7 separate regions of the Homo sapiens genome follow, and all the other regions are linked to region 6. The links are contacts of gene promoters, found by promoter capture Hi-C in blood cells and fetal thymus (Javierre and others, 2016). All regions are on one chromosome and are shown on one strand. The core of a region is centred on a gene start or on the middle of the fragment in contact, and the rest is flanking DNA. Distances in the headings are between cores, read along the strand shown.

The links. The method cuts DNA at HindIII sites, captures the fragments that hold promoters and counts their contacts. A CHiCAGO score of 5 or more calls a contact.
Region 1: a contact is called between a fragment that was not itself captured here and the fragment with the promoter of SETD3 in region 6, in 3 of 17 cell types (M1 macrophages, total B cells and M0 macrophages). The highest score is 6.6, in M1 macrophages.
Region 2: a fragment that was not itself captured here is called in contact with the fragment with the promoter of SETD3 in region 6 in 3 of 17 cell types (naive B cells, neutrophils and monocytes); the score reaches 5.7 in naive B cells.
Region 3: a contact is called between a fragment that was not itself captured here and the fragment with the promoter of SETD3 in region 6, in 1 of 17 cell types (neutrophils). The highest score is 6.6, in neutrophils.
Region 4: a fragment that was not itself captured here is called in contact with the fragment with the promoter of SETD3 in region 6 in 1 of 17 cell types (neutrophils); the score reaches 5.3 in neutrophils.
Region 5: a fragment that was not itself captured here is called in contact with the fragment with the promoter of SETD3 in region 6 in 1 of 17 cell types (neutrophils); the score reaches 5.7 in neutrophils.
Region 7: a contact is called between a fragment that was not itself captured here and the fragment with the promoter of SETD3 in region 6, in 1 of 17 cell types (neutrophils). The highest score is 7.3, in neutrophils.

Annotation. Positions count from the first base shown.
Region 1 is chr14:100,069,250-100,072,387 of GRCh38, forward strand. All of the region lies in intron 1 of EVL (Enah/Vasp-like), which reads left to right. Among named protein-coding and RNA genes, the nearest start is that of EVL, 5.4 kb to the left of the region's middle. RefSeq lists an enhancer at 1-323. The HindIII fragment of the contact is 1,969 bases long and covers 377-2,345 here.
Region 2 is chr14:100,385,351-100,388,489 of GRCh38, forward strand. The region is part of intron 2 of WDR25 (WD repeat domain 25); the gene reads left to right. Among named protein-coding and RNA genes, the nearest start is that of WDR25, 10 kb to the left of the region's middle. The HindIII fragment of the contact is 1,585 bases long and covers 780-2,364 here.
Region 3 is chr14:100,362,487-100,365,650 of GRCh38, forward strand. All of the region lies in intron 2 of WARS1 (tryptophanyl-tRNA synthetase 1), which reads right to left. Among named protein-coding and RNA genes, the nearest start is that of WARS1, 11 kb to the right of the region's middle. The HindIII fragment of the contact is 5,176 bases long and covers 1-3,164 here.
Region 4 is chr14:100,273,846-100,276,619 of GRCh38, forward strand. YY1 (YY1 transcription factor) reads left to right here. Exons shown (of 5, transcript NM_003403.5): 3 at 853-913; 4 at 2,645-2,774. Among named protein-coding and RNA genes, the nearest start is that of MIR6764, 2.1 kb to the right of the region's middle. The HindIII fragment of the contact is 2,725 bases long and covers 12-2,736 here.
Region 5 is chr14:100,231,932-100,234,743 of GRCh38, forward strand. The region is part of intron 1 of YY1-DT (YY1 divergent transcript); the gene reads right to left. Among named protein-coding and RNA genes, the nearest start is that of YY1-DT, 5.3 kb to the right of the region's middle. RefSeq lists enhancers at 394-894, 895-1,395. The HindIII fragment of the contact is 5,151 bases long and covers 1-2,812 here.
Region 6 is chr14:99,479,454-99,482,334 of GRCh38, forward strand. It overlaps SETD3 (SET domain containing 3, actin N3(tau)-histidine methyltransferase), which reads right to left and starts at 1,406. Exons shown (of 13, transcript NM_032233.3): 1 at 1,275-1,406. CCNK (cyclin K) reads left to right here and starts at 1,956. Exons shown (of 11, transcript NM_001099402.2): 1 at 1,956-2,026. RefSeq lists enhancers at 537-1,038, 1,847-2,216 and silencers at 887-1,086, 1,197-1,656. The HindIII fragment of the contact is 7,554 bases long and covers 1-2,881 here.
Region 7 is chr14:100,188,724-100,191,750 of GRCh38, forward strand. No RefSeq gene overlaps it. Among named protein-coding and RNA genes, the nearest start is that of DEGS2, 31 kb to the left of the region's middle. The HindIII fragment of the contact is 4,292 bases long and covers 1-3,027 here.

The sequences.
Region 1 (3,138 bases), core at 111-2,610, 590 kb after region 6:
GAGAAGAGACCAGAAAAACAGACATTTCACTTGCTGTCAGGTAGTGAAGGAGCTGTGGCTGCTTGGGCACAGTCATTACTGTTTATTCCACTGTGCTGCACATCTTGAAGCTGTAAAGATATAAGAAGTCTCGCACAGCCGGGGTTCAGCTTACAATCCTTCGCACCTAATTGTACGCCTTTGTGTGAGGGTTTGGAGGAGTCTCCAGGAACACCTGGTGTTTCCTTTCTCACAGGTATTTCCAGTCCTCACGGGCAAGTCAGAGAGTCCCAGAGGCAATTGAACAAGCCCTCAGAGATCACGTAGTCCGTTCACTCTCCATGGGAACCCGCACTTCCCTAGAGACCTGTAGCCAAATCATTTGGAGAGCTTCTGAAGCTTCTCTGCCTTCCTCTGTCTCAAAGAATCCCATGTGCCTCTAGTTGAGAAACATTCCTCTGGAGATTCTAGGTTATTCTCATGAGAATGTTACGATACTCAGGTGGGCTGGGGCAGAAAATGGATGAGAACTAGTGTAGTCCAATGGCTTTGCTTTGGTAACTGAACCCACAGAGGAGGAAAATAACAACAGCTCAGCTTTTCTCAGTGTTATACACCAACCATTACGCTAGTTACATGATATACATACTATTTAATTCTCATCCTTTGAGGTCTGGTATCACTATTGCCACTTTACAGATAAGAAAACAAGGGTTGGCCGGGTATGGTGGCTCACTCCTGTAATCCCAACACTTTGAGAGGCCAACGCAGGTAGATCACCTGAGCTGAGGAGTTCAAGACCAGCCTAGGCATCATAGTAAGACCTCCTCTCTTAAAAAAAAAAAAAAAAAGAAAGAAAGAAAATAAAATTAAAAAATGAAAATTAGCCAGATGTGATAGTGCATGCCTGAAGCCTATAGTCCCAACTTCTCAGGAGGCTGAGGTGGGAGGATTGCTTGAGCCCAGCAGTTCAAGCCTGCAGTGAGCTGTGATCACACTACTGCACTCCACCCTGGTGACAGAGCAAGACCCTACCTCAAAAAGAAAAGAAAACAAGGGCCTACAAAGTATCGTATTCCAGGTCACATTGTTGTCACTTGACGGAGCTTTTGATCTCTGAGAGGATCAAAATCTGCCCTCTCAGCTTTAACTTCTCAAAGCTAAACTTGTCCCAATTTGCAGAGTCAAGGGTAGAATCGAGGCCCTCCTGATCTCTATTTTGCAGTCTCCGTCATTCTGTGCTGTTAATACCACAAGAGACAAAAGAGACCTCGTCTGTCCTGTAGCACCCCGTGCCTGCGTGCGTATCTCTTGTCGATGCTCTGTCGGCTCAGGATCTCTCCTACCAGCCTAGAGCTCTTTCAGAGCAGGACGCTTGTGTTATGCATTCATGTTTGTCCCTGTGCCTAGTAAATAGCACAGAGTCCAAGTGGCTACTTGTGTCTTCAGGGGTGTTTGTAAGGGCAGAGCCGGGGTCTTCATTCCCAGGCTGTTGATTCATCCTTGGAGCTGAACATACTGTCCCAATCCTTGGCCCAAGCCAGGCCTCTACAGTTGTCCCAAGGCTGTGCTAAAACCTGTTCCACTTCACAAGTGATCAGAGTCACAGACTCTGGGGACACAAATTTTGAGATGAAGACACAGAGCAAAATATATAAATGTTTTTGAGGTTTGAGTAGCCTTAACGTCCACGTGGCTGTCAGATGGCTCCCCAAAGAAAGGGCTACGCCGGTGGCCTTGAAAGAGTATGGGAGATGCATATGAGACAGGGTCAGTCTAGGAATGTCAGACTCCCCCAACAGTTGGTTGGAGTGTTTTTCCAGATTGCACCAGACTTCACAGAGTAATGGAGACCAGCTGTCCAGGCATCTGAGAGGGTGACATCCAAGGAGAAAAGGCAAACGTCTTGATTGCCCATGATGTGGGCAACCAATTTGGATAGAAAAGAAGGTGTCAGGGTTTAACACTGAATGTAGACTTTATTTACCCAAAGCCTTTCTTTAATTCTAACACTCTCAAAAATGGGGCTCAGTCACCATTTGGGTTTCCCATGTTAATATGCAGAGAGCTAATTCATTGTCTTTCATTGCTGTAATGCAGCAGTTCTCAAAATGTACTCCAGAGATTGACCCTCCTAGGAGTCTGTAGATCAGAACTGTATTTATAATATTACTAAGACATCATTTGCCATTTCAGCTCTTGTCTCATGAATTCATGGTGGAATTTTCCAGAGCTATGTGATGTTTTGACATCATCACTGTGGCAGCTAATGAAATGTCTGCTTGTATATTCTTGTGTTTTAAAAAATTATTAGTTTTAATTTCAAATAAGGTGAATATGGATAGACTTAACCTACATAAAACAGAAGCTTTTTGGCATCCTCAATAATTGAGTGTAAAGGGGTTCTCTTGACCAAAAAAGTTTGAGAACTATGTGTGTAAAATAGTCAGTTGTATGGCTGCACTACAGACAGCAAGCATGGAATTGAAAATACCACCTGCAAGGTGGCGGTTCCCCCTGGTAGAGAGGAGGGGCTCTGGGTCTGGGAGGAGGATGCAGGCGTCACTTGAACTAAACAGCTTTATGACTTGCTGTCAGATTTCCTAGACTGTGTGGTGGGATCGTGGGAACCTACTTCTCACAGGCCTGAAGTACTTCACAATAAACATTTTAAGTCTACTTCATAGCATGAAACCTGTTTCACACCTGTGCCCATTAAGAAAAAAAAATGGCACCCTATAAATGATTTAATAATTACTAAGGGGAAAATATAGCTTTCCATTGGAGATCTGGCAGTCACCTCTTAACCAACCTACAGTCTACATTCAGTTGGCCTGAATTCTTCACACACACAACATCTTTATCAATGAAAAATTTTTAAATAGTTTCACATCCTAGCTTAGCTTGAAAGGGAGTAAGCAGACGGCTCGATCAAATGTAATCCATGAGCAGATCCTACATCCCAAAAAATCAGAAACATTTTGTAAAAATTGGGTAACTTTTTTGTTGTTGTTGCATCGGAGTCTCCCTCTGTCGCTCAGGCTGGAGTGCATTGGAGCTATCTCCGCTCAGTGCATCCTACACCTCCCTGTGCCTCCTGGGTTCAAGCAGTTCTCCTGCCTCAGCCTCCCGAGTAGCTGGGACTACAGGCATGCGCCA
Region 2 (3,139 bases), core at 322-2,821, 910 kb after region 6:
CAGCTCATCCAAGCTTCTAGAATGTGGAAGAATCCTTGATTCAAGGTAACATTTACTGAAAAATGATTTCTTTCTGATCAGGAGAAAAACAACACAGTCCAACTTATTAATCTAAAGAACATGGAGTGCCAGTTCCTTCATATCCTTAAAACGTAGCTTCGGAATTCATACATTTCAACTGGACACATTACAGTGGAAAGATACTTATTTTAATATGTTCTAAATGTTCTGTGAGCTGTAAAATATGCTTTTATTAGTTTTGAAAAATTTACAGCTAGAGAAATTAAGTAAAATAAAACAATGACTCATAATTCTGCACCGCTGCTCTTTCCTGACGATCCCTTCCTCCCCTTGTCTGTGAACGTGCTTGTTTTTTTCATAGCTGTGATCCCAGCACGGATACCCTTTTATATACTCTTTTCATCTCCCAGTGAACTCTTTTGGCTTAACGTGTTTGAACACCCACTGCACGTAAAGGTAGAAATTCAGACTTTGATGCCTTTTTTTGAAGGAAAACATGTACGTGGCCTGCGTTAACCAAAAACACAACCAGCCGTTATTGAATGCTCCCATGTACAGAACCCTCTGCCAGGCACTGAGAGGGAGTCCCAAAGGAATAAGACCTTTGGGTGGGTGACAGAAGACCCACCAGGGACCTTCTGTACCTGTATGAAAACCTGCAGTTCTGAAACACAGAAGGTTTTTAAAGAAAATATATGAATTAGATGTTGTTTATTTGCTTTACAGAATAATTTGCTCTAGAAATTCTTTCAGTAACAAGCTTCCTTAAAATACTTTGAAAAAAAACCTTTTAATTTTTGACCATGAATGTAATAGATGCTTATTGTGAAAAACTTTAATGATGCAGGAAATATGAAGTATGAAGGAGAAACAGAAATCATTGATAACTCCCAACCCCAAGTCAGTGCCTCATTAACATGAGGGGCCTCCCTGGTCGGGGGCCCTACATTCCTATCTGTTTACATAATTGGGCTTATTGCATAGTATGTGCAGTTTTGAATTCTTCCTCTGCTGCCCAATCTTCTGTAACGTGTAAGGGGAATTTTTCTACCTTATTAAAAACTTTTCCCCAAATATATTTTTATAACTGTCTCAAGTTTCATACTTTGCTCCATCATTTCCATGTTGTTTCCTATAATTTCCTGCTTTTGTTTAAAAAATAATCAGTATTACAGTGAATATGGCTATACATAAATATTGTCTTTTTTTGCTGCCTTAATGCAGTTAAGATGGGCTTTGAGGCCAGGCGCGGTGGCTCATGCCTGTAATCCCAGCACTTTGGGAGGCCGAGGCAGGCGGATCACGAGGTCAGGAGATTGAGACCATCTTGGCTAACATGGTGAAACCCCGTCTCTACTAAAAATACAAAAAATTAGCCGGGCGCGGTGGTGGGCGGCTGTAGTCCCAGCTGCTCGGGAGGCTGAGGCAGGAGAATGGCATGAACCCAGGAGGCGGAGCTTGCAGTGAGCCCAGATCGCACCACTGCACTCCAGCCTGGGTGAAAGAGCGAGACTCCATCTCAGAAAAAAAAAGAAAAAGATGGGCTTTGATTTACACCCAGGCATTAGCTAAAGCCCTTGTGTGTGGTGAGAGTGGGACCTGATTAGATTGGCAAACCTTCAGTACCACTGTTGTACTCCTTGGCTCCCATGCCAAATCTTCTGCTTGGTAGCTGTGTGACTTTGGGAAAATCACTTAGCCTCTCTGATCCCCTAGTTCCTCACTGGTAAAATGGGGATAATTGGTAAATGGCCACCAATTAAGGTTGTTGCTGTAGAGCTGAAATGAGAAGATCCAGCCTAGTGCCTGACAAGGGAGAGGCTGAGGAAGCATGTTTCTGATTCCCCTGTACCTGTCTTGATTAGTTATAAAACAAAGTGTAGAAAAGACAAATCACCCAGAATCCTCCAACTTACTGTAACTCTTGTTTTTTGTGAATCTTTTCATTGTCTCTATGCACACGTTTTTAAAGCGTTTCAATCTCAGTGTTCTTGAGATAAATACTTTTAGAATCTAAAGAGTTTGAGGATTGTCTGTGCCAAGCCATTCATGCACTCCCTTTTCATGTACTGAACACTTGGCAGGTCTGTGTTGGAGAGCTGGTTCCCTGTCCCCAAAGTGGTCACATTTAAAGCATGGATGAGAGGATGGAGAGCGCTAGCCATTGCTGAGTGCTTACCATGTACTAGGCATGTTCTAAACGCTCCGTCTCCTCTTCATTACAGGCCTGAGAGGCCACTTCTGTCCTCATTCCCATTTTACAGATGAGGAAATTGAGGCACAGAGAGGTCAAGAGACTTGTCCGTGGTCACACAGCTAGTAAATGATAGAGGCAAGCAGGGAAGCTTCAGACTCAGAGCCTGAGCAGAAAGAGCTACCACCACTCACGCTGCCCTCCTGCCTCTGAGAATAAGGGATGGAAAAGCGCATCCCCTTCACCCAGGTGGTGTCCAAGCTCTATCCCAGCTTCCAAATTTTGTGGTTCTGTTAAGGGACATACAGAGAAGAGATGATTTCTGGGGTGGTTTGGATTTGCATTTTTATGTATCACAGGATCCTGTTGATTTATCATTGTTAGTGAATCTGATTACATTAAGATATCTTAGATGTGCTTTGTAGAAAGTGATCTATTTCACATTCAAAGACAAGGGATTTATGGCTCTAAGTGCCAGAGTGAGGGTTTATTTCAGTTTTGAAAGAATTATTCTTGATGGATTTTACAAAATGAGATTGAGAAATGATTTGATGTGTGGAGTGAGGAGTTGTGGAGCATTATGCAGATGATTGGCAATTTATTCTAAGCACGAGGCAAATCTATTGGCAATGAGAGGCGCAGCTGGGAAGGAGGTTTGGGTGGTGGTAGTGGGCCTTTGGTATTTGGGGAGTGAATGATTAACAGTGCATCCAGGGTAATTAGATGAAGGTGAGGAGAGAATTGGTGATGTGTGTGTGCGCATGTGCGTGCATGCATAGCGTTCATCTGGTTCATTTGATAGAGGCCCATAGAGGGGAAGACACGCCCGAGGACACACAATAGGTGTTTGGATGCTTCCTAGTCTGGACACTATATTTGCTTCTCTTCTTTCCCACCTTCCAGAGGACTTTCAGAATCATCTGA
Region 3 (3,164 bases), core at 448-2,947, 880 kb after region 6:
GGAAATAGTTACATCATCACATTTTGGAGTCTTATCAAACTATCTTGAAAAAAAAAAAACAAAGGTAAAATGTACCCTTGGGTAGTCTGGAAATGTATTAAAGACTCTTTTGCAGGAGTCCATAGTGGCCACCCCTGGAAGCCTGGTGTTTAGAAAAGCAGGCCTAATTAAGCTGATTAGTCATGCTATGCCCTAAAGCTCTATTCTGGTAATTGGCCTTGCTGGATTAGATCACAAACAAAGAATATACACAGCCCAATTTGCTTACCAAGGGAAATACAAACATTTCCACTTACAGTTTATACAGAACATTCTTTCTTTTAAATCTCCTTAAATTCCTTTTACCATATACAGAATGTTCTATAAACACCAACCTCCATTCAGAGATAACTATTCCATCAGATATAGCACTTGGGCCATAAAGGACTGTGATTCTGGAGTAATCTGTGTTTCAAACTACAAAATTATCTGAGACTCATCATTAAAATGAGCCAGATTTGTGGAATCAGTAACCCAATGGATACGATTCATAGATGAGATGTTTGCCCAGGTTAGATAGTTAAGTATGTTCCACCCATCTCATTTCTGTAGTACCTAGGCTCAGTACTTGCAAAAAATAACAGTTTAGTACGTATAATCTATCCAATTATCTATGGGAAGGCTTACCTTGCTTTGAAGTACACTGCAGTCAATATCACTTAATAACTAGCTTTGTTGACATTTCATACTCTATCTGGTCTAATTCTGCTTGTAACTAGGAGGCTCTGCGAAAGTCAAACATTTAACCAATGTCCCTGCTCAAGGACCATCTGCATTTTGGAATAGCACCAAAATAAGACAAGCAGGCTTACCTTGTCTATTTTCTTATAATCAGTCTTAATCAGTGTCTGAACCAGGACACTGAAACAGGATTCAAAAGCTGATGTTAGCTGGGTGCAGTGGCTCACACCTGTAATCCCAGCACTTTGGGAGGCCAAGGCGGGCGGATCGCCTGAGCTCATAAGTTCGAGACCACCCTAGGCAACATGGCAAAACCCTGTCTCTACCAAAAATAGAAAAAATTAGCCAGGTGTGGTGGCACACACCTGTGTTCCTAGCTCATCGGGAGGCTGAAGTCAGAGGATTGCTTGAGCCAGGGAGGCAGAGGTTGCAGTGAGCCGAGATTGCACCACTGCACTCCAACCTGGGTGATGAAGTGAGATCCCCACCCCACAAAAAACCCAGAACATCAGTTTTTTTTAGACAGGGTCTCACTTCAGTCTCCTGAGTAGCTGGGACTGCAGGTGTGTGCCACCATGTCTGGCTAATTTTTAAATTTTTTGTAGAGACAGGGTCTCACTATATTATCCAGGCTGGTCCCAAACTCTTGGCCTGAAGCGATCCTCCTGCCTTGGCCTCCTAAGTGCTGGGATTATAGGCATGAGCCACGGAGCCTCGCCAAAAGCTGATGTTCAGAAAAAAAAGCCAGACACAAGACTGTATTACATACAGTTCAAACCCAGGTAGAGCTACCCCTGGTGGGAGGAGTCATGGCAGAGGCTGAGGCGCGTGAGGGTGGCTTCTAGGTGCTCTCTGCTTGCTGTTGATTTGGGTGCTGGTTACACAGGTGTGGTCATTTTGTGAAAATTCAGTGAGGTGCCTGCTTGTGCTTATGATCAGCATGTTTTTCTATATGAATGGTATATTTTGATTTTAGAAGTTACTTAAACAAAAAGGAGAAGAAGAAAAAGGCTCTGCTCTCTTTCTTAATACCTAAGACCTAGCATTGCTTCTTTAGTCCTGCTCAAACTATTTCCCCTCACAGCCCTCAGATGCTGACTTATTTCCCCCTAGGAAACTTGCCGCTTTAATGAGCTGCTGCTACTGAAGGATGTGGATCTTATTCTTTAGATACACTGGAGCAGAAAAGACCTTCAAGGTCCATGGCCTAGATAAATGGCAGGAGAAGAAAGAGCTCAAGGTGCCCTCTCTTAGAACTGGCACTCCCAATGTGGCTCACACTATTTTGCTAAAAGTTAATTTTTAAAATTTCCAAAACATCAAGTGCTTCTACTACCAAGACATTTCAGGGTCAGATACAAATGTACTTCTGAATTTTTCACCACTTAACTCTGGTCTCATTGTGCAACCTCTGATGTCTTCAACGTGTGCCAGCCAATTGCATTAGTCAAATAATACACTTGGAAGAGTTATTATAAAATGTATTAAGTTGACTAAAATAATGAACATAACTGCAGTCACTAAGAATTACTAACTAAAAACATTTACTAAATGTTATTCAAATTTAATATTAAATGGACAAAAATACCACTGTCAACTTCCCAAAATGATGGGCTTACATAACCCCACTGGGTCTTTTATTTATTTTATAATTTTGTTTTAAAACAACTTGGTTTAATCGTTTGAGGCCTACCTGGTGAGTAAATCTCTTTCTGTAAAAAAGTAACTTTTTTTTGACATTACTTTCTTTCAGTACTATTTATTTCATTTAAAATATGAGCTGGGTGCAGTGGCTTGCATCTATAATTCCAGCAACTTGGCAGGCTAAGGTGGGAGCCCAGGAGTTTGAGGGTGCACTGAGCTAGGATTGCACCACTGCACTCCAACGTGGAAAGAGCGAGACCCTGTCTCAAAAAATACACACACACACACACACACACACACACACACACACACAAATAATGATTTAAATCAGGGTCCCAAATAGTCAAAGTAAACTACTGGGGAATGTGAGATGGTTGACACAATCTGGTGACAAGCAAGGTGTTTGAAAAGATAACAGATAACAGGAGTTAAAAGTGTCGGAAGTCGGGCCGGGCGTGGTGGCTCACACCTGTCATCCCAGTACTTTGGGAGGCTGAGGCGGGCGGATCACCTGAGATCAGGAGTTCAAGATTAGCCTGGCCAACATGGCAAGACCCCCTCTCTACTAAAAATACAAAAATTAGCCGGGTGTGGTGGCGGGCGCCTGCAGTCCCAGCTACTTACGAGGCCAGGGCAGGAGAATCGCTCGAACTCAGGAGGCAGAGGTTGTAGTGAGCCAAGACTGTGCCAGTGCACTCCAGCCTGGGCGACAGAGTGAGACTCAGCCTCAAAAAAAAAAAAAAAAAAAAAGTGATGGAAGTCATGGAGAAGCCGGAGTGGAGTCACCCCAGAAGGAAATG
Region 4 (2,774 bases), core at 124-2,623, 790 kb after region 6:
CAAAAGTCCAAAGCTTGATTCAGTGGAGAAGCAGGTAGGTAAGTTACCAAACCAGGAGGCTCTCTGGACAGTAATTTCACCTGGGGCTCTGCCAGACGGTTACCACATTACCAGGACTCTTGGTACAAATGAGAACTTCCAAGCCCCCATCCAGAAGTAGGGTAACAGTATGAGAGTATGTGGTGTTCCCATCTGTCCACCAGGCCCTAGGAGCTCTCTCCCCAAAGTAACTGGTGCTAATGGTTTGTCGTGTGTCCTTCCAGAGATATTTGATATTTAATATCTATAAATCTTGATTTAAAAGGACTCTTCTGTACCCTTTAAAATGATATATTTTAAAGATCATTCGTGTCAGTACTAATTGGACCCATTTCGTGTATAGAGATGGATATTTTAGGACACTCCTGTGTTCACCGCTTCTTTTTCATAAGGCACCTTCATCATCGCAGCAGCTGCCTTTGGAAATCTTCCCTTGCCTCTCACAAGGAGATTCATCTGATTGTCTGAGTTGATTTTTTGTGTTTTTTTAAAGGGTTTGGAGTTAAGAACAGGTATGTGAATCACACAGATCATAGTGCCATTCTAAGCTGCACCAGCTTATTAGCTATGAGACTGTAGGCGGCAACTCGATGTTTCTAGCCTGAGCATCCTTATCTGTAAGATGGGAAGAGTGCTTCACAGTCATTGGTACTTAGTGAATGCAAGTTGTCTCATCCTTTCTGCTTCATGGAAATGTATCATAATTTTAGTTTGGGTACCTATAAGGAAAGCATTTTAGGGACTATATGATTTATGCCAGTTGAGTCTACCCACTCCTACAAATCTGTCTGTCTCTCTTTTTCTTTTGATAAGAATGAAGCCAAGAAAAATTAAAGAAGATGATGCTCCAAGAACAATAGCTTGCCCTCATAAAGTAAGTAATGCTAGAGGGAGAGTGTTCATTAAACTGTTGATGAAGTTTTAGAGAGTTATAAGAAATTTGCACTTTTGTTTCTGCTTGTGATAATTTAAATGAAGCAAGGAATTAGAATCTTCGGTTTCTAAATCCAAGAGATGAAGTTTTGTTATTTAGTAAAGGCAACTTTTTAAATACTGTTAAATGGGATGACTGCAGGGAGCCGTTGCTTGATTACTGTGTGTTGACTCTACTGTTAGCGTTTCATTTCTTTTTGGATTATATTAACAAGTCCGTCTTAAGATCCTGGGTTGTGTCTCACCTATTGACCTTTATGGGAATGTAGGCTTGTAACTGAAATTTGAAAATTATTTTGGATGTTGCTAAAATAAGCCAAATAAAGACTTAATAATTGTGTGTGATTAGAGAGGCACTTAATTGTTTTCAAATGTAGTTAGTCTTTAAAATAAAAGGATAACCTGAAAAGTACTTTTGAGATATTTGTTGGGGGCTATTTTCAAACTTAATTGGATATGAGACTAACAGAAAAATCAAGTATCACATAGGTACAGAGAACAAAGTAGGAGAGATTGAGTGGAATAAAGAATGTTAAAAATGAACAATCGGAGCAGGCTACATTTAGTTTCACGGTCTCTTCCCTGTAATGACTGTGCACTAGCAAGTCCTTCCTGTTCTTTGTCAGCGTTCTTGATGTGGCGATTTGAAATGTAAACGTATCTCCATTAGGGCCGAAATAACAAGCATTTGAAAACAGTTAGGCTGGAAGTGCCTATGCCATCCCTTTAGCTTCTCTGAAGTTTTCTTTATAATGGACACATAATACTTGTACATATTTATGGGGTACCGTGTGATGTTTCAATGCATGTATACATTGTGTACCAGTTAAATTTTTTAAATTTCCATTTTCTAAATGGAAATTCAACCTAGGGGTAAAGGCGGAAAAACTGGGGCTTCCCTCTCCCTTCTGCCTGTGAGCTGTCTAGTGACTTGTGCTGTCCTTCTGTCATGCTGTCTTATCATTTCCCCATTCACTCCATTACTGGGCAACAACTGCAGAAGAAATTGTTGAGGACATGCTTCTCGAGCGCCACACATCCATCTGCCTTTCCCGCCCTGCACTGGTATCAATTTGCCTGCTTCTTCCTTTTCCTAGTGTCTCACAAAATAAATTTCTTCTGTAGTTGCCATTCCTTGGAGACCCTCTTGCTTCTTTCTCTGTCAAGAAGGGGAAAGAGGCAAAGAGAGAAGAGGGAACAGTAGGCGATGGAGAATGACAGTCCATTGTTGCAGCACAGAATATGGGGCCACCAAAGGTAGTGGTGGACTACCGTCATTTTAACTCCATTTGCTTAGCAGTGCTTCTGTTACTTCATTTTGGGGGACATAGTCGGGTGAGGTGGCTGTGGTAGAGCTGGAAGCCAGGGTGTTGGGTTCTATTCCCAGTTTGGCTACTACTAGTAGTGTGACCTTGGGCAAGTCTACTTAAAGACATCTCTAAGCCTCAGTTTCCTCATCTGTAAAACTAGGGTTTGCATTGAATGATGACTTTTTCAGCTGTCTGCTTTTTGTCTTAAATGATATTAATGTTCTACCGTAATACTAAGTAAAATTAAAATGGGGGGTTGGGGAGGTGGTTTTGTTTTAATATGTCAGTAAAGGCTGTTAAATGGTTGAATCCTTTCTAACAGTTTGCAATGTGAACTTCTAAGCTGCTTTCTCTGTTTTAAGGGCTGCACAAAGATGTTCAGGGATAACTCGGCCATGAGAAAACATCTGCACACCCACGGTCCCAGAGTCCACGTCTGTGCAGAATGTGGCAAAGCTTTTGTTGAGAGTTCAAAACTAAAACGACACCAAC
Region 5 (2,812 bases), core at 126-2,625, 750 kb after region 6:
ACAGTTGAAATGTCCCTTTCTCATGAAGGCCTTTACCTTGCGAGGCTAGGCTAGATTCTCTGTCCCCAAACTCTCACTTCTTTGTAGGACTTCTATAAATGAATATTAGGTATGGGCTGGGCGCGGTGGCTCATGCCTGTAATCCTAGCACTTTGGGAGGCCGAGGCAGGTTGATCACTTGAGGTCAGGAGTTCCAGACCGGCCTGGCCAACATGGTGAAACCCCATCTCTACTAAAAATACAAAAAAATTAGCCGAGTGTGGTGGCGTATGACTGTAGTTCCAGCTACTCAGCAGGCTGAGGCAGGAGAATCGCTTGAACCCGGGAGGCAGAGGTTGCAGTGAGCTGAGATTGTGCCACAGCACTCCAGCCTAGGCGACAGAGAGAGACTCTGTCTCAAAAGAAAAAGAAATTTTTTAGATATGTATTTTTGAACTATCTGTTCACAGCCGAAGTCCCTCTGGCCTGTAGACTCTGTGAAGCCAGGCTTGCTTGTCTTGTTCTTGTTCACAGCTATATCTATCCTTTGGGCCTTGCACTGCAAGTGCGAGGTAAATGGTGACTGAACAGCTGGTCTCACCTAACTCCCTGTGGGGCGTCACTCCTTTCTGACAAACAGAAAAAAATTCCTATCAGAAAGGTTACTGCCCAGTTTCACAGAGAGGACAAGTTAACTCCCAAATCACATAAGCTCTTCCCACTCCACCACGCTCACCTGCCTCACACACACAAATACCTGAATCGACTTCCTGTATTTTCCACACTGCAATAAATGTGCTTCTGTGAAAACCAGTGTGGCTATGAAAGTTATCGTGGATTGGCCGGGCACGGTGGCTCACGCCTGTAATTCCAGCACTTTGGGAGGCCGAGGCGGGTGGATCATGAGGTCAGGAGATCGAGACCACCCTGGCTAACACGGTGAAACCCCGTCTCTGCTAAAAATACAAAAAATTAGCCAAGTGCAGTGGCGGGCTCCTGTAGTCCCAGCTACTCGGAAGGCTGAGGCAGGAGAATGGCGTGAACCCGGGAGGTGGAGCTTGCTGTGAGCTGAGATCGCGCCACTGCACTCTAGCCTGGGCGACAGAGCAAAACTCTGTCTCAGAAAAAAAAAAAAAAAAAAAAAAAAGGACGTTACCATGGATTAAAGAATTTCTGGCCAGGCTCACGCCTGTAATCCCAGCACTCTAGGAGGCTGATACGAGCAGATCCCTCGAGCTCAGGAGTTCAAGACCAGCCTGGGCAATTTGGCAAAACCCTGTCTCTACAAAAAATAGCTGGGTGTGATGATGCATGCCTGTAGTCCAAACTACTTGGAGGGCTGAGGAGGGAGGATCTCTTGAGCTGGGGAGGTTGACGCTACAGTGAACTGAGATCCTGCCACTGCACTCCAGCCTGGGCAATGAGTGAGACCCTGTCTCAAAAAAAAAAAAAAAAATTCCATTCTGTTTAATTGTGCATTCCATATTTGTTGGGATGGGTGGGCAGTAGGAGCAACTTCAGTACAATTAAGTTGATTTAGCTTCTTCTTTGGAGGGACGTTATACTAGCAAAGCAGAGAAAAACAGAGGCTAATCTATTACTAAAGATTTCAACTTTCTTTATATTTATGGGCAATAATCAGGTTCAATCATTGTAATAAACCACTTGGCCTAAGAAAAAGAATTTAATTAAGGTCTTATAAAAGGACATAAAATACTACATAAAGGGTGCCAGCTTTATAGACGTGAGATTTCACCTATTAACATATAGTTAGGAGGCTGGGTGCGGTGGATGGTGCCTGTAATCCCAGCACTTTGGGAGGCCAAGGCCGGTGGATCACTTGACATCAGGAGTTCAAGACCAGCCTGGCCAACATGATGAAAGCCTGTCTCTACTAAAAATAAAAACGAAATAGCAGGGCGTGGTGGTGCGTGCCTGTAATCCCAGCTACTTGGGAGGCTGAGGCAGGAGAATTGCTTGAACCCGGGAGGCGGAGGTTGCAGTGAACCAAGATTGTGCCACTGTACTCCAGCCTGGGTGGCAGAGTGAGATTTCATCTCAAAAAAACAACAAAAAAACCCCATATAAACATATATAGTATATAGTTAGGGGTCGGGTACAATGGCTTATGCCTGTAATCCCAGCACTTTGGGAGGCCAAGGCAGGTGGATTGCTTGAGCTTAGGAGTTTGAGACCAGCCTGGGCAACATGGTGAAACCCCGTCTCTACTAAAAATAAGAAAATTATCAGGGCATGGTGGTATGCACCTATAATCCTAGCTACTCAGGAGGCTGAGTCAGGAGAATCACTTGAGCCCAGAAGACAGAGGTTGCAGCAAGCAGAGATCACACCACTGCATTCCAGCATGGGTGACACAGTGAGACCCTGTCTAAAAAAAAAAAAACAAACAAACACAGGGTATTTCACCATAATTTAAACTCCAAATCTAATATATGCATTGATTTGGTGGGAAAGTATCCCTTTAATAGCTCAGGTTTCAAAGACTCCACAACCAAGAAGGTATCTATAGTTTAGACAGTTAAGAACATGTACATACCTAGTTTTTCATTTAACTTGGATCCAAACTAGGGGTAACTAATTTGGATGCATGCACAAAAATTTTCATTCTGATTTTTGTAAACATTTCATTGAAAACTGGGCGTGGATGTGAATTGGAACAGGATCACACTACTGAAACTTACATAGGTTTTGCAGTCTCACAAAAGGCAGGAAAGTCAAGCTCTCGCTTTTCACCTCAATCACTACCTTTTTACCACACCGCCATGTGACGTTGAGCACATCTCCTAGGTAGTTTCCTTGTCTGCAAAATGAA
Region 6 (2,881 bases), core at 156-2,655:
TTTAACAGTGGAGAGGAAGACTGCTTTATTTTGCTATATTCTTGGGTTAAATGTATTCGCTTAAAATAATAAACACTTCTCCGAGATTATTACTGGTTAGTTCAGTTTTGAAATACTGGCAAGGTCATTTCAAGAAGAAAAACGGGAGAGGGAGAGGTATATTTTACATAAGATAAAATTCACACTTTTCAGTGTCCGGTTCTGAGTTCTGACAAACGCATTTATAGTGGCCTCATCAGCACCACAATCAGGCTACGAAGATGGGGTAACTCTTCGAGGATTCTTAAAAGCAAAATTGATTTGTCAGCATACTTTAAAAGTATTTTTGCTTTTGAAACATCACCTTATTTATTTAGAAAAGCAAAATAACACGGTCCGAGTGGTCCTAACCCGCGAATGCCTTTGCAACACTGAAATGCCCTCCTCCCAACACCGGCCGGGCAGGGGTGAGCCCCGCAGCCAGGGGCGCGCGTCACTGTCAGCTCCTTTTCCCAAGTGGAGACCGGGAAAAGACAAGAGTTGCATCGCCGGGCTGGAGCCACGAGGAGGAAGAGTTAACGCCGGAATGACAAACTCTAAAGCACCGAATTGCCTCTCCCTAGTAGGGCACTGCGCGTGTGGAGCACGGCCAGGGGCGCGTGGGAAGAAAGACGACCTATTTCCTACGTCCGTCTTCCTAACTGGACGGCGCGGGAGGAGGCGGGGGCTGGTCCCCGGGCACCCTGGTGGGCACCGAGAACTCGCAGAGAGGAACATAAAACCGCACAGCCTTCCCCGAGCAGCGGGGTGACGGGAGGAAGGAAGGAAATGGGAGCGCGACCCGGCCGCGCGCAGAGCCGAGCCGACTAGCGCGAGGGGCCCGGGCCCCACCCGAGAGCAGGCGCGAGGGCCGGGGACAGCGGGGCAAGCTCGGGGAGAGCGCTGCCTGCACCTGGCACCACCTCGAGACCGGGTGGCGCGGGGCCCGGGAGCGTGGGCGCCAGAGGGGACAGGGCAGCGGCGAGCGCGCGCCTCTCGCCCCGCAGGGCGCCCGGGCAGAGGCCGACCGGCGCCCTCCGACCCCGCCGGGCCCTCCTCGCCCTGGCCCCCGAGCGCACACCTGCCCCTTCAAGCCCCGGGGCCACAGCGGCCGGCGGGGACCCTGGCGGGGGCGCGGGCCGGACTTCGGCCGAGGGGCGCTGGCCAGGGCGAGGGACGGCCTCGCAGAGCTCGGAGACGCGGCGCGAGTTTCCCCCGCGGGCCGCGCGGGCGCAGAGACCGCCGCCAGCACTCACCTGCCCGCTTCCCCTAGCGCAGCGGGAACGACGTACTCCGGCCCGGACCCCGCCGTCCGCCTCAACCAACCCCCAGGCGGTGGCGGCGGTGGCGGCGGCGGCGGCCGGACGGGAGGGGCGGGACGGCAGCCTGAGACGGCCCCGCGACCGCGGCCCAACGCTTCTCCTCCCGCCCCGGACCCCGCCCCCGGGCCGCAGCCGCCGCCGTTCATTGGCCCACGCTTCGGACGCATGGGCGCGGCCCCGCCCCGCCACCCAGCCGGCGTTCCGTTCGGGGTCCTCCCCAGCCAGTGGGCTGGCAGCTCCCGGGGGCAAGAGCGGCCGGCTCAGCCGCCGCCAACCACGATGTCGCAACTGGCTGCGTTCGCCCCCGCCAGAGCTTTGATTGGACGAATCTCGACCCGGGCCCCGCCTACGCGCCCAAGTTCCGTTAGCAGGTTCGGTTGCTCCAGAATGCCTTTTCGCCCCGAGGGGCGGGACCGACGGGATGGGCCCTGTGGCTGGCTCCTCCCTCTGTAAGCAGCAGCCACTGACCCGCGGGGCGGGCGGGGAGGAGAGCGGCGGCTCGTTCCTCTTTTGAGAGCTCTGCTTTCTTCCCATTGGTTGACAGGCATCCTACTCTCTCCGCCCCTCCGGTCGCTTGGTGGCGTCTCAGGACGCAGCGTGATGACGTAGGTCCCCGACATTCCATATACAAGATGGCCGCAGTCGGCAAGGAGAGACGTCGCTGAGGGGCTTGCCTGAAGCGAGGGGTGAGTGACCCACCGACTGAGGGCAGCGCCGCCCACCTCCCGCGTATCTGGAGGTCGGAGTAGGTTATGGCCAACCGCCGCTATCCACTGGCGGAGTCTCTCTTTCCGGATTCTGCCTCCCTCCGCTAACCTCCGGTACACATTGAACTTTGCGGGCGACGCGGGGTTGTGGGGCGGGCGTGTAGAGAGGGTCTGAGGCGCCGGGGCGGGGCAGGGAGGCCGGACTCACCCTAGAACTGGTAGCGGCCCTCGCACTGGGGGGCAGTCAGAGTTGGGGAACTTTCTAGGGGTTGGGCAAAAGGGGCAGCGGTGTTAACCGCGCACAGTCTCACAGCCACAGACTTCTCATATCTCCCCGATTATTTCGCGGCGTATTAGTCCCAACCTTGGCTAGGCCTGAAACTTTTTGGAGGTTGTTCCATGTCTAGGGTACTCCGACTTTGGAGTTTTGGAGAGCCACGTAACGAGGGTGCGGCTAAGATGAGGAAAAGGCACTTCCGGGATTAGATTTCGTTCTTGCCCAGACATCGTCTTTACGGACCCGCTCCTGGTGGTTGATTTGGTTTGTTATGAGAGAAATTGTTCTTTAGAAAATTGGAGCGTAAGTCTAGAGGTTATGTGACAGCTCCTAAACGATTGTCTGCCCAAGATAGGCTCGGTAATGCTCCCTAAATTTAGACTGCCAGTTAAACGGAGCTTTCGCTAAGTCATCTGAGGTTAGGAACTATTTCTAAGAGCATTTCTTAAGGGTGGTCTTCTGTGTTTTTAAGAGAAACTTGGTGATGTTTGTGTATCTCGATCTAAATCGCTGTTTACAGATACCTAGCACAATGCCTTGCAGTTGTAGGTGCCCGC
Region 7 (3,027 bases), core at 473-2,972, 710 kb after region 6:
GGGGCCTGTTCCTCCTTTCATGTTGCCTCTTCCTACCTTTTGAATGGGAGTGTCCGCCTTATGCCCGTGCCACCATTGTATCTGGGAAGTAGATAACTTGCTTTGATTTCATGGGATTACAGATGAGACTCTGGACTTTGGACTTTTGAGTTGGTGCTGGAATTAGTTACAGCACTGGGGCTACGAGGATGGAATAACTATATTTGTACGTGAGAAGGACATGAGTTTTGGGGAACTTAGGGGCAGAATGCTATGGTTTGAATATTTGTCCCCTCCAAAATGCATGTTCAGACCGGGCGTGGTGGCTCACGCCTGTAATCCCGGCACTTTAGGAGCCCGAGGTGGGCAGATCATTTGAGGTCAGAAGTTCAAAACTAGCCTGGTGAGCATGGTGAAACCCCACCTCTACTAAAAACACTAAAATTAACCGGGCATGGTGGTGGGCACCTGTAATCCCAGCTACTCAGGAGCCTGAGGCAGGAGAACCACTTGAGCCGGGGAGGCGGAGGTTCCAGTGAGCCAAGATCTCGCCACTGCACTCCAGCCTGAGTGATGGAGTAAGACTCTGTCTCAAAAAAAAAAAAAAATTCATGTTCGAATTTAATTCTCAATGTAGCAATATTGAGAGGTAGGGCATTTAGGGTGTGACTGGGTCATGAGGGCTTAGTGTGCCATTGGATTGACGGGTTATCATGAGAGTGGGCTAGCATGCTCAGCCCTCACCATGTGATACCCTGCACTGCCTCAGGACTCTGCAGAGAGCCCCCACCAACATGAAGGCCCTCACCAGATGTGGCCCCTCGACCTGGGACTTCTCAGCCTCTGTAACTGTAAGAAATAAATTCCTTTTTAAAATAAATTAGGCAGGGCTGGGCACCATGTCCCAGCGTGTAGTCCCAGCATTTTGAGAGGCTGAGGCAGGTGGATCACTTGAGCCCAGGAGTTCAAGACCAGCCTGGCCACCATGGTGAGGCCCCATCTCTACTAAAAATACAAAAATCAGCCAGGTGTGGTGGCACTGGCTGAATTCACGCCACTGCACTCCAGCCTGGGTGACAAGAGTGAAACTTCATCTCAAAAAAAAAAAAAAAAGGGCCGGGCGCAGTGGCTCATGCCTGTAATCCCAGCACTTTGGGAGGCCGAGGCGGGCAGATCACGAGGTCAGGAGATCGAGACCATCCTGGCTAACACGGTGAAACCCCGTCTCTACTAAAAATACAAAAAATTAGCCAGGCATGGTGGCAGGCACCTGTAGTCCCAGCTACTTGGGAGGCTGAGGCAGGAGAATGGCGTGAACCCAGGAGGCAGAGCTTGCAGTGAGCGGAGATCATGCCACTACACTCTAGCATGGGCGACAGAGCGAAACTCTGTCTCAAAAAAAAAAAAAAAGAATTATTAGTATAAGTCATCATGCAGCTTCATCTCTGTTTTGCTAATGTGAAAGTTGATCATACAACCAGGTTACTGTTGTCAGACCCAACTAAAACAGAGTTGAGAGGCCAGGAGGAAAAAGCACTGGGGTCACATAACATTGCTCCAAGAATGTCATTCTCTGCAAACCTGGCTGCTGAAACTGCCTGCTGTAACATGACACCAGTTTACCCACCTGTTACTGAAACAACCTGGTGCAACTCTAAGACTAGTTTTACCTGCGGCATCATCATTGCTCACCAGAGCTTGTCAGCTCCCCAAAACTTTACTAATAGCCATGAACTTCCTTTTAAAACAATGCATAATATTTCTTTTTTATAAAACCTCCAACCTTCTCTTTGTTCTTCAGACATACTGAAAACTACCTGGTCTGTTTATATGCCCCAAATTGCCATTCTTGCTTTTCAAATAAAACTTTTTCAATTTAGAGATTTGTCTCTATATTTTATTTCACTTCACACTTAGAAATTTCTTCTGGCCAGGCAAGGTGGCTCAAGCCTATAATCCCAGCGCTTTGGGAGGCCAAGGTGGGAAGATCACTTGAGCCCAGGGGTTCCATACCAGCCTGGGCAACATGGCAAGACCCCGTCTCTACTAAAAATATAAAAAATTAGCCAGCCATGGTGGCATGTACCTGTAGTCCCAGCTACTGGGAGGCTGAGGTGAGAGGATCACTTGAGCCCAGGAGGCAGAGGTTGCAGTGAGCCAAGATTGTGCCACTGCACTCCAGCCTGGGCAACAGAGCTAGACTCTCTCTCAAAAAAAGAAAAAGAAAAGAAAAGAAAGAGAAAGAAATAAATTTCTTCTGCCAGATACCTTAATTAATCAAGGTCGGCCTTCCATCAAGCCCTCAGGCATGTATGTAGTTCTACTCACATGCTAACCCATTAATTTATTAACCCACAAATGGATTAGTCTATTCTTTTTTTTTTTTTCTTTGAGATGGAGTCTCGCTCTGTCGCCCAGGCTGAAGTGCAGCGGCACGATCTTGGCTCACTGCAACCTCCGCCTCCCAGGTTCAAGCGATTCTTCCGCCTCAGCCTCCAGAGTAGCGGGGACTACAGGCGTGCACCACCACGCCCGGCTAATTTCTTGTATTTTTAGTAGAGACGGGGTTTCACCCTGTTAGCCAGGATGGTCTCGATCTCCTGACCTTGCGATCCACCCGCCTCAGCCTCCCAAAGTGCTGGGATTACAGGCGTGAGCCCCGCGCTCGGGCTGTCTTTTTTGTTTTTTGCTTTTTTTTTTTGAGACGGAGTCTCGTTCTGTTGCCCAGGCTGGAGTGCGGTGGCGCGACCTCGGCTTACCAAAACCTCTGCCTCCTGGATTTATATTTTATTCCTTTTTTTTTCTTGACTAGCTAAAGGAATAAAATATAAAATACTACACTCAATAAAATGATAACAGGCCGGGCGCGGTGGCTCATGCCTCTAATCCCAGCACTTTGGGAGGCTGAAGTGGACGGGTCACCTGAGGTCAGGAGTTTGAGACCAGCCTGGCCAACATGGTGAAACCCCGTGTGTACTAAAAATACAAAAAAATTAGCTGGACGTGGTGGCAGGTGCCTGTAATGCCAGCTACTCGGAAGGCTGAGGC